Regions from separate parts of the Homo sapiens genome. Here region 1 is linked to region 2. Evidence: promoter capture Hi-C in 16 types of primary human blood cells and fetal thymus (Javierre and others, 2016). All regions are on one chromosome and are shown on one strand. The core of a region is centred on a gene start or on the middle of the fragment in contact, and the rest is flanking DNA. Distances in the headings are between cores, read along the strand shown. Region 1 holds the start of TMEM165 (transmembrane protein 165). Region 2 holds the start of SCFD2 (sec1 family domain containing 2).

What was found. The method cuts DNA at HindIII sites, captures the fragments that hold promoters and counts their contacts. A CHiCAGO score of 5 or more calls a contact.
Region 1: the fragment with the promoter of TMEM165 here is called in contact with the fragment with the promoter of SCFD2 in region 2 in 1 of 17 cell types (naive CD8 T cells); the score reaches 7.1 in naive CD8 T cells.

The regions. Positions count from the first base shown.
Region 1 is chr4:55,393,675-55,399,391 of GRCh38, reverse strand. TMEM165 (transmembrane protein 165) reads right to left here and starts at 3,435. Exons shown (of 6, transcript NM_018475.5): 1 at 2,996-3,435. The coding sequence starts at 3,202. RefSeq lists an enhancer at 1,210-1,259 and silencers at 2,760-3,229, 3,430-3,629. The HindIII fragment of the contact is 4,477 bases long and covers 421-4,897 here.
Region 2 is chr4:53,362,556-53,368,496 of GRCh38, reverse strand. It overlaps SCFD2 (sec1 family domain containing 2), which reads left to right and starts at 2,436. Exons shown (of 9, transcript NM_152540.4): 1 at 2,436-3,393. The coding sequence starts at 2,556. RefSeq lists enhancers at 2,471-2,520, 2,541-2,740, 2,961-3,010. The HindIII fragment of the contact is 6,997 bases long and covers 1,756-5,941 here.

The DNA of each region.
Region 1 (5,717 bases), core at 2,186-4,685, 2.0 Mb before region 2:
ACTGAAGTGGACATGTCAAGCAGGGTCAGCTGAGCCAGGAGCGACAAGCAGGGCAGTGTAAATGGGAACCCCACTCCTAAGCATATGGCTGGGGGTAGCAGGGCAGGCAGAAGGAAAAAGATGGAGAAGCCCACTCACCTCTTTGCTCTCCCCAAGTGGACTAAAGACCCTGGCTTCACATGTTAAATGATTCACACTTCTTGTACACCTCTGACATCACTGCATTATATCTCTCTGTTACCATGGGTTATTTACTCGTTGAGTTCCAGTGCTTTTGATCTTCTCTTTTTCTCTTTTTAAAAAAAACTTTATAAGAGTCCCGGAATTAACTATATAGTCAGCTGAAAATAAACTGTCTAAACCAACACCAATCCAATAATGGTTACAAAATCACATTATATCCAGCAGATGATAAAAGCTTAGTTCTCTTAATTCCATCTGGTGGATCCCTTGCAACTTAAAAAAAAAAGGTTGGATAGACACTATTAAAAATCGGGTTGTTGTTTTTTTTTTTTTTTCCTGGTTGAGTTTATTTTACAGCCAGTTTTTCCAGAAAGGTATTTAACAGCTGATATAAACTTGACATGCAACTACTTCAACCCAGTCTTAGAAAATTAGTTAATAAATGCCAAGAACAGACAAGGTCTTCTGGAATAGACAGATGAGTAAGCCAGAGTCATGCTCTCAAGACACCTAAAAGCTAGTAGGGGCAGATAAAACACGCACACAACTTGCAAGAACCCAAGGCAGCAAGATGTGTGTGTAAACATGCCACAACATACACAATAAAGTTCCCAAAAAAGGAGAAAGAGAAAGCTAGGCTCAAGATCAAAGAACTGCACCAGCATACAATCCAATAAACCATTAAAATCCATTAGTGAATTAAATAAGTCAAAAGAGTAAGACACAATGAATGCTAATAAAACTTAGTAAGGCACAGAAGTCCAGATTCTAATTCTGGTTCTGCTGAAACTAGCTTCTAGCTCTGTGATATTAAACCACTATTCCTTACAAACCTCCTCTACCTGTTTAACGTGCTGTTGTGAGGATTAAATCGGCTCCCAGAATCTTCACTTCCCAGTAACTTTATCTCCCAGATTCCCTCCCATATCAGAATCTCCTCATAGGCAGTTAGTTATTCAACTTCTTCCTGAGTACTTCCAGTAAGGGGAACTTCATTATTTCTCAATAGCGATTACTACATCTGGGACAGCACTGATTCTTACAAATGTTCTTGCTTAGTGAAACCAAGATCAGTCTCTCAGAAAGTTCTATCCTACGGTCTTACACAGAAAAACAACAGAAAATTGGAAAAGCCTAAGAAAGTAACATGTAACGAAAACATGAAACACGAAAACAATGCACCGGTGTGAGAGCTCACCAGCACTTGGGAGGCCAAGGCCGGAGAAGCGCTTGAGCCCAGGAGTTTGAGACTAGACTCGGCAACATAGTGAGACCTCCTCTCTCAAAAAAAAAAAAAATAAACAAAAATTAGCCGGGCGTGTCAGCACACGCATGCAGTCCCAGCCACTCAGGAGGCTGAGGTGGGAGGATCAATTAGAGGTTGCAGTGAGCCAAGACGGGGCCACTGCACTCCAGCCTGGGCGACAGAGCGAGACCCTGTCTCAACAAAGAAAAAGGAAAAAGGAAAGGAAGGGAGAAAGGAAAGGAAAAAGGAAAGGAAAGGAGAAATGAAAGGAATGGAAAGGAAAAAGGAGAAAGGAGAGGAAAGGAAAAAGGAGAAAGGAGAGGAAAGGAAAGGAAAGGAAAGGGTCAGATAAATCACCCTTAACCAAGAAATTTTAGGGAAGTCTTCACAGAGAGTAGGTATCTGCTGGTTCTCCAAGGTGGGAAGAGTTGATCCGTGGCTTCAAACTCCAGGTCTTTTTTTTTTTTTCTTTGAAAAGGTCTTGTGTTAGGGAGGAACTGGCAAGAGAGCACAAAGCCTGTCCCAAAGGGCTCTTGAAGCACATTCTTTTTTGCAGATGAGCATATCCCTTTAGCATATGAGCAAGAAAGCGGTGGCTAAAAAGCCTGGAGGTGAGCTGGAGCCAGATCAGAAGAAACCTGAACATCACTCTCCTAAAAAGGCTGGACTGAAATTAGTGGAGGCAACTCACCGACGACTTCTGACAAGATGGCAGAATTCAATGTTCGGGAAGATTAGTTACGTGGAGATGGGCTGGATGTGGCCTGGGTGGGAGTGGGGGTTTGAGTGCCACACTGGCCGGGATTCAGGGAGCAGATACTGGAAATGACGACAAAGCCCACGACTGGGAGAAGGGAGAAATGTTAAAACGCTGCCAAGTGACTAAGGACTAATTCTATTAACAGATTAAAAAGTTGATTTCTAGTATCTATTCAGGGAAGGACAAAATACAGGATTCTGTTTTACTTATAAATGTAGTTTTGGCATCCCACATCGCTGCAGCACGCTGTACTGCCGGAGACTAATTCCTCTGCGTTCCTAAAGGCTACTTCCTGCTAGCCAAAGCACATTTTTAAAAAGTGAGAGTCATGGTTCATAATCCATATTTGGCAAAAAGCACAGGCAGTGCCAAGTTGAATTTGGGTAAGCAGTTTGGCATAAGCTATTTCAACAATGAAATGGCCGATGTGATGATCCTCAGGGAATACAAAAAGCCTCCTAGCAGCCTTCTGTTAAAAACTTTTTGGTAGGGATGAGTCTTTCTAGCTACTCTAAGACACATCTGATCAATAAAACGCCCATCCCGGAGCAGCATCTTGGCCCTCCGGAGATCAACGTTTATAGCGGGCTCCTCTTGGACTCTCCCTCTCCCTTTCCCTAAAGGAGCGGGCAAGACCAGGCCTCACCGGAAAACAGCGCAGCCGACCGCCCTCCACCCCGGGAGCAGGGGCCGGGCTCCCCTCCCCCAGCCGAGGCCGGCGGAGTGCGGCGCTTTCAAAGGCCTGGAGCCTGGTACTCGGCGCAGCCGGCCCTGCAGCCTCGCTCGCCCCATCCCGGCCCGCTCACCTCGACCCGGGCCGGCTCGGGGCCCTGCACAGCCACAGGCTGCGGCTGCAGCTGCTGGGCCGGCGCCGGCGGTTCTTTGTTCCGGTGGCTAAGGTCTTCATCTGGGCCGGCCCGGACCGCAGCCGGGGCCCACAGCAGCGGAACCAGAAAGAGCAGAAGCAGCCGGGGCGCCGATGCGCGGCCGTTCCCTGGAGCCGCGGCCGCCATCCCGCCTGCCGGGCCGGCCGCGCACGGGCGCCGCAAGAGGAAGTGCCGGCGACGGGAAGCCTCGACCCCGAACAGCCTCCGCGGCGCGTCCTCACGACTCGCCGCCGCCGCCGCTTAGGGAGCAGTCAGCACCATCCGGGAGGTGCAAGCAGCGGGAGTGAGGTGAGGGGCAGGCCGAAGTCCGCAGCCCCGGCTCGGCGCCCGTCCTCTCCGGCGGCGGCTAAACTGGAGTCAGCCAGCTGCCTCGGCGCGGCCCAGCCCCGACTCCTCCCGGCCCCGTCCCTGCCCGCGACGGCCTCCCATTGGCCCGGCGACCGCCTTGGCGTCGTGACGTCCTCTGCCAGGTTGAGGTGCGGCGCGGGCCCTCCTCCCATTGGATCCGGCGCTCCCGGCAGGTACCCGGCGCCGCGTGTCCTTCCTCTGCTCGCATCCTCACCGCGCCGCGCCCGGGGCTCCCTTTCTCTCTCTGTGCCCCACCGTCCCAGGACTGCGAGGTCCTTCACTTCTGCTTCCTCCAGAGCCTTCCGCCGTAATGTCCGCACCCGCTGTTCCCTGCGCTTAGTCTCTCTTAGAGGTCAAATTAGTGCGAGCGCCTCTGGTTACGTGGCGCTGACTCGCAGGCACTGCCACGCCCAGCTCTGTTCCGCTCTCCCCCGCCGAGCCTCTGTGCCACCCTCCATGTGGCCACCTACCGCCAAAAACGTTCTTAGGAGCTCAAAATGCTATTTTTTTTTTAAAGTTCTGAAATGGGATTTGGAAATAACATGACATTTTTCAAGCCTTGTTTTAAGATACTGCCTATAATTACCCCAGACCAAAAATGGCTAACGTTGCCCTTGTCCAGTATGGCCTTGACGTTTTGGGTGCATCTTGTTTTGTGCTATTCCTTAGACCCTTTAAAAATGCTGGGCTTTTGAAATGGACTGTTTAAGACTTTTGCAGGATGGAGCTTTGAGTGGGCAAGACTAGAAGACAGGAAAGGATGGTCTTGAGTTAGGCTTGAGAATATTTTTACGTCTTCCCAAAAGAAAAAGTGAGCTACTTAATTACCATAAGTTTGAGACCTAGTCCCTAATAAAAATCGATAGTGCTAACCATGTGCCAGGCACTAATCTAATATTATACATATTTACATACAGTAAACCTGTACTCAGTAAAGAGCTAAGGAAGTTTATCACTAACTGAAACAAAAAATTAATCCACCAAAACAATCTGTGGGAAAGTGGGCAAACCTACTTTGAGTTCACCAAAGATACAGTGTTTGTCACAGGATAATAAAATTTCCGTCTGTTTTTTTGTTTTGTTGTTTTCTTTGTTTTTGTTTTTGAGACGGAGTTTCGCGCTTGTTGCTCAGGATGGAGTGCAATGGTGAGATCTCGGCCCACTGCAACCTCCTCCTCCCGGGTACAAGAGATTCTCCTGCCTCAGCTTCCCGAGTAGCTGGGATTACAGGCATGCTCCACCATACGCGGCTAACTTTGTAATTTTAGTAGAGATGGGGTTTCTCCATGTTGGTCAGGCTGGTCTCGAACTCCAGACCTCAGGTGATCTGCCGGCCTCGTCCTCTCAAAGTGCTGGGATTACAGGTGTGAGCCACCGCGGCCGGCCTCCGTCCATGTTATTCTGTCCGTAATTCCCCTTCTTCCATTCTCTCCTTGTAAACTCCTACTCATACTTCCAAAACCTATTCAAGCTTCCACTCTCAGAACTTTTCCCCAACACATGGCGTTACAGAATTTGTCACTTGTTCCTTCATGTTATTGCTTTATGCATTCTTCTATTACTGTGTAAGTAGGATGCCTCCACTTACAGTTTGGGGTGTGTTAAAAGAAAAACCTTAGACAAATTAAACTTAACAGCGTTTAATCAAGCAAAGAACCCAAAGAATGATCTGCAAATCAAAAAGACCCCAAATCAAAGTAAGTTCAGAGAGGCTCCAGTCTTGCCGAGTGGTCGGAAAAAATAAAGTGACTTACAGAAAACATAATTGAGGGACAGAAACAGCTGGATTGGTTGTAGCTCAGGTTTGCCCTATTTGAACACGGTTTGAACAGTTGGCCACTTGTGATTGGCCAGAACTCTGTGATTGGTACAAGAATAGGTTACAGTCTGTTTACATACCCAATTAGGCTACAGTTCACCATGTATGGGGAAACCTTTAGGCCTAACTTAAAATATGTAAGGAGGCAGCTTTACACTAAATTTAACAGATGCAACTATCATCCCTGGAGTGCAAATGTTTGAGCTTTCAGAAGCCAGTAATAACATAAAACCCAGAAGCCCAAACTTCAACTACCTCCCCTTAATGCATACAGGATTTGCTGTGCTTAAAAGGGGCCTGAAAGGGAGGCTTGAGGTCCCAAGGGAGGGACCTGAAAGGAGCAGCTTAGGCTGAAGACAGAGCCAGAAGGGTGAATGTAGCAAAACTGGCTGTGTGTCCCTCATTGCTGAAAGCTGCTTTGTTTATTTTCTAGGATGGGCTGCCCACACTCCAGGGCTTTCTCACAGGAAGGAC
Region 2 (5,941 bases), core at 1,187-3,686:
TTCTCTTAATGGTTTTTCAAATCTCAATGACTGGCATTCATCAGTCATCCAGACAGAAAGCTGGGTGCTAACCTGAAATTCTCCTTCCGTGTCACCCTCTCTGTCAAACTAATAAGCAAGCCCTTTGGCACTATATTCTTAACGTCTATTCATACTCCCCACTCTGTCCATCTGCTTGTTACGCTTTTCAACTCTCTCACCCAGATTTGCTGCTGATACTATTATTTTCTTAACTGCTCCCTCTGCGCTAAATTGCTCCATTTCAAATTATTTTCCATGTTTTGACTAGAACCATTTTTTTTCTAAAATCCAGATGTGAACAAATTATTTCCATACCCCAAAATACATTAATACTTCCCCACTGGCTGCTACTACTTAGAATGGAAAATAAGGCTCTTGCTGATCTAGCCCATTTCTTTCTTTTCTAATTCCTTGCTCTTATTTCTTCTTGCGCCTTTTTTCATACAATGCACTCCAGCTATAGGAAACCCTTTGTAGTTCCAGAGAACATATTGTACTGTTTTATGCCTCTACGACTTTGTTTATGCTGCACTCTGTGCCTGGACTGCTAAGAATCCTCCTCCCCATCCTGTCCACCTGGTGAACACCTGGGTTTCTTTGAAGGCAAGTCAAAACTCATGCCCTATATGAAGCTTTTTCTGACTTCTTCCTTTTTCTCTTAGAATTTATTTTTCCTCCTTCTTGACTCCTATACAAAAAATTTTAAAAAGTATTTGCTTCTGTAACATTTTATTGCACTTGTTTTACATGTGTGGGTCCCTTTATTTCATCATAATTATTTTGAAATCAGGGCTGTGGTTTAGTTTTCTTTATATCCTTAAAACCCAGACAGTGTTTGGAATACTGTACGTATTTATTAAAAATTGGCTGGATATATTATTATGTGGAATTTTTTTTTTTTTTGAGACAGAGTCTCGCTCTGTCGCCCAGGCTGGAGTGCAGTGGTGCCATCTTGGCTCACTGCAACCTCTCCCTCCTGGGTTCAAGTGATTCTCCTGCCTCAACCTCCCGAGTAGCTGGGATTACAGGTACCTGCCACCATGTCCAGCTATTTTTTGTACTTTTAGTAGAGACGGAGCTTCACCATGTTGGCCAAGCTGGTCTTGAGCCCCTGACCTCAGGTGATCTGCCCACCTCGGCCTCCCAAAGTGTTGGGATTACAGGCATGAGCCACCGCGCCTGGCCATGGATATTAATTGAACATTCATTCAACGAACATTTATTGAACACCTGTTATAAGTGTTGGGGATACCAAGCATCTAGTGCATAATTTAGCAAAACAGATAGTTTAAAGAAAATAGTGTTAATACTTACCCCATGATATGGCAAGTACTTAGCGAATGTATCAATTGAGTGGTTTGATAGGTGGGGGAAGTGAGAGGTGATAGGGTGATAGTGGTGGTGAGTTAGAAAAAGTCTCTCACAGGCAGTACTGTTGGAATGATTATTTTCGGTAAGTTTACCAGGTAAATTCTTTGTGGATTAGGTAATGAATTTTATTAACCATTGCATCTTTGAAGCTTAGCACAGAGATTATACTTAGTAATGTAAGTATATTGGTGGAACAAACAGAACCCATAAAACATTTTGGGTTCAGCCTATTGACTTCATTGTATCGGTACAATTTTTCTCCATGTTGGGAATAGCTGGAGAGAAATTGAGAAATCAAGAAGGATGTTGATGCTTTTTAAAGAGTGTGGATGTATCCTATAGGCAACTGGGCTAGGAGAAGCTTTTAAGCAGGAAAGTTGTAGGACCAACTTTGTTTATTAGGAAGAAAATAGAATTGGAGGGTAAAGAGATCAAAAGTCAGAAAATGTTGGGAGATCATTGCCTGGGTGAGCGATGATGTTGGGTTTTTGTGACAGCAAAAATGGAGAGGAAGGGCTGAATTCTGAGAGTTTTTAAGCCTATAAGATGTAGTGACGATGAGATGAGGGAGGAAAGATGGAGAAAGTGAAAATGAGAACAACAGGGTTTGTTATGAGGCTTGTGGGCGATAACGTATGTGACAGCAATCTATAAACCCAAAATATTGCACACGGTTGTTTTTATTATCTTTTTCTAGTTGCTCTGAGTTTAGATTGAGAAGGTGGCTGTACTTTTGGAGACGTGTTCATATCTAAGGAAGATACCAAATTTCGGATTAGGTTTTTATTTCGGAGACTTTTCAAGGAACATGAGAAGATTATCTGAGAAGATTATCTGCGCAGACAGGCCGAGCGACGGAAAGAACTCAGTTCAGCTCCATCTCAGGAAACACCTGATCTCCACGAGCTTTTGAGGAAGCCCGGAGCCACAGAGCCCCACCCACTTCTTTCCCGACCGCGCCATCCTTCCTCACTCCCGGCCTCCTCTCTAGCCAATCACCGCTCAGTTTAACGTCATCACCGAGCGCCATCAGGGAGCGTGTCAGAGGCCGACCACGTGTACTGTGGAGACTGTCAAAGTCTCCCGGAGCCCAATTTCCGGAAGCGGTGAGTTCTGAAAGAAGTTCCTGCACCGTAGTTTCCCAAGTCTGCGAATCCCCAACCATGAGCGCCTCGGGCGTACTGTCCTTTACCCAGCAAGGATGGGAGCAGGTGCTGGCCAAAGTGAAACGGGCTGTGGTTTACCTGGACGCCGCCTGCGCCGAGAGCCTGCACTGGGGCTGCGGATCCACCCGTCTCCTGGAGGCGGTGGGGGGTCCTGACTGTCACCTGCGAGAGTTCGAGCCCGACGCAATTGGTGGTGGAGCCAAGCAGCCCAAGGCAGTGTTTGTGCTGAGCTGCCTGCTGAAAGGCCGGACCGTGGAGATCCTACGGGACATCATCTGCCGCAGTCACTTCCAGTATTGTGTGGTGGTCACAACCGTGAGCCACGCTGTCCACCTCACAGCTAATCATGTCCCAGCGGCGGCAGCGGCCGAGATGGAGGGGCAGCAGCCGGTGTTCGAGCAGCTGGAGGAGAAGCTGTGTGAATGGATGGGCAACATGAACTACACGGCCGAGGTGTTCCATGTCCCGTTATTGCTTGCCCCTGTTGCTCCCCACTTTGCCTTGACTCCAGCTTTTGCATCCCTTTTCCCACTGCTACCCCAGGATGTGCACCTCCTTAATAGCGCCCGACCGGACAAGAGGAAGCTGGGAAGCCTGGGTGATGTGGACTCCACTACGCTAACCCCAGAGCTGCTGCTGCAGATCAGATGCCTAGTGTCAGGCCTCAGTTCTCTGTGTGAACATTTAGGAGTACGGGAGGAGTGTTTTGCTGTAGGTTCCTTAAGTCAGGTCATCGCTGCGGATCTGGCCAATTATGCCCCTGCAAAGAACAGGAAGAAGACTGCTGCAGGCAGGGCATCAGTGGTTTTTGTGGACAGAACCCTGGATCTCACAGGTAAGTGCATTGCTCTGGAGTTCTTCATTACCATTCCCCACATTGCTGGGACTTTCATTGATTCAGCATATATTTTATTGACCTTTTATTATATATTAGATTGAGGATACAAAGATGAACTAGATGGACACGGTCTCTAATCTCACAGAGTTTATTGTCTAAAGTGGAATACAGACAGGTGAATTAGCAATTACAATAACATTTGTTAAATGCTGTAATGGGTAGAAATGTCATAAATGCCCATTGCCTTGTTAAACAACAACTTTAGCCCAAGATTATGCTGACAGGGAGGAAAACTGTGCACCTGGGAAATTTTATTTTTAGAAATTTACGAATGCCAGTATTCACAACAGTCCTTCATAAGAAGACTCTGGTTTGTTGGAGAAGTGTTAATAGATGACCCAGCGGAAGGAAAACTACTGCACAAGAAAACATAAAATTATTACAGACAATTGAGGTTTAGGAAATGAGTGTTCAAAAGTGAGGCTGAACTTAAATGTTACTAGTAAATGAGATGAAATAGAATTGTAGAAAATATTTTCAAATGTTTATTGATTTATTTTTAGCTCTCATTGTATTAAAGATTAAGTAAATAATCTCAAATTGTAATAATGTATTATTTACACAAAAGAAACAAATGTAATCCTTAAAGCAGATGAAGAAAAGACACTTTCTGATGTTTGATATGTTATTTTCAAAGGTCAACTTTATTGTTCTCTAATTAGGTTGTATAATACTGTTAGTAATATAGCCTAGCCACTTCCAAGTCCAGGGAGAATAATCGGAAAACTGACATTGGTAGGCATTCCCTTTAATCGGTCAGAAAAAAAGTTGAATTAAGTTATAAAAAACGAAATAGGTATATTTGAGTTTTTAATCTTAATAAGATTAATTTTCAGATAAAAAATGGAAAGTAGGCTAAATGGTAATACTGAGATGTAAACTTAATTATGTGACTGGAAAAACCAGGTGTCCAGTCTGTGATTTAAATATATAAGTAATAACTGTAGCATCACAGAGTCCATAGGGGATTAAAAGATAAAACCTGATAAGTAGATGCTTGTTGAGTTTTTTTGTGGATGCTATATATTACTGTTACTTCTATCTCTTTATGCCAAAAATGTAGCAAAGTTGTTTCATAATCAACTGGGAAGTTCACATAATTTTGTACCCTCCCCTAAGACTTCTGTTAGGCAAAACTTAATATCCCACTGTCCAGCATCATAGTAACAGCTCTTTACATCTTCAGTAGGTAATGCTTTTTTTTTTTTTTTTTTGAGACGGAGTCTCTCTCTGTCGCCCAGGCTGGAGTGCAATGGCGCAATCTCGCGAGGCTCACTGCAAGCTCCGCCTCCCGGGTTCACGCCATTCTCCTGCCTCAACCTCCCGAGTAGCTGGGACTACAGGCGCCCGCCACTACGCCGGGCTAACTTTTCGTATTTTTAGTAGAGACGGGGTTTCACCGTGGTCTCGATCTCCTGACCTCGCGTGATCCACCCGCCTCGGCCTCCCAAAGTGCTGGGATTACAGGCGTGAGCCACCGCGCCCTTTTTTTAAACATACAGAATAAATAAGGTGAGCATAACTTCTGCCCTCTAAAAGTTTACAATATAATGTAGTCAAGTATCAATATAACGTAGTCAAGTATGATTTAGAGCCCGGCACAGTGGCTCATGCCTGTAATCCCATCACTTTGGGAGGCTGAGGGGGGCAGACTGCTTGAGCTCAGGAGTTTGAGATCAACCTGGGCAACACAGCAAAACTCAATCTCTACAGAAAATTTAAAAATTAAATAAAAAATGAAAAAACTAGCCAGGTGTGGTGACCTGTAGTCCCAGCCACTCAGGAGGCTAAGGTGGAGGATAACTTGAGCCCAGAAGGCAGAGGTTGCAGTGAACCACCATCACATCCCTGCACTCCAACCTGGGTGACAGAGTCAGATTCTGTCTCAAAAAAGAAAAAAAAAAGAAAAAAAGAATGATTTGCAAAATAAAGACACATAGAAAGACAAAGTTGCCATTTGGCAGCAATCATTTTATAGATTCTCCCTTATCAAGTGTCCAGATCTCCTTCCCCATACTCACTTTTCTCGCTTCTAATATCACTGAGAAAATATAAGCCACTAAACAAATCTGTATTTTCCCATCACCAAATCTACCACCCTTCCTACATCTGTACCCATGTCTTTTTCCTTCCTTCATATTGAAAAGAAATATACTGTCCCTGCCACTAACGCCAACTTTTTCACCTATGTAGACTAAAGCCTCTCTTTTCACTTCTCTCATAGATTTACTGTTTTTCAAATACCCTCTCCCTTTCTTAGATCATCATTTTTTCCTTTTCTCTGTATTTTCACCCAGGGAACATCTTCTGTCTTGACCTCTCATGCTCTTCCAACTTCAATTCCATTTTTTTTTTTGCTTTATTTTATAGCAAACTTGAAAGAGTTGTCTATACTTGTTGTCTCCACAAACATCTGCTCCAATTTTCTCTTGACTCCAGTTAGAGTTTTATTTTCCAATACTTCCCAGAAACTTCCTTTGTTTTA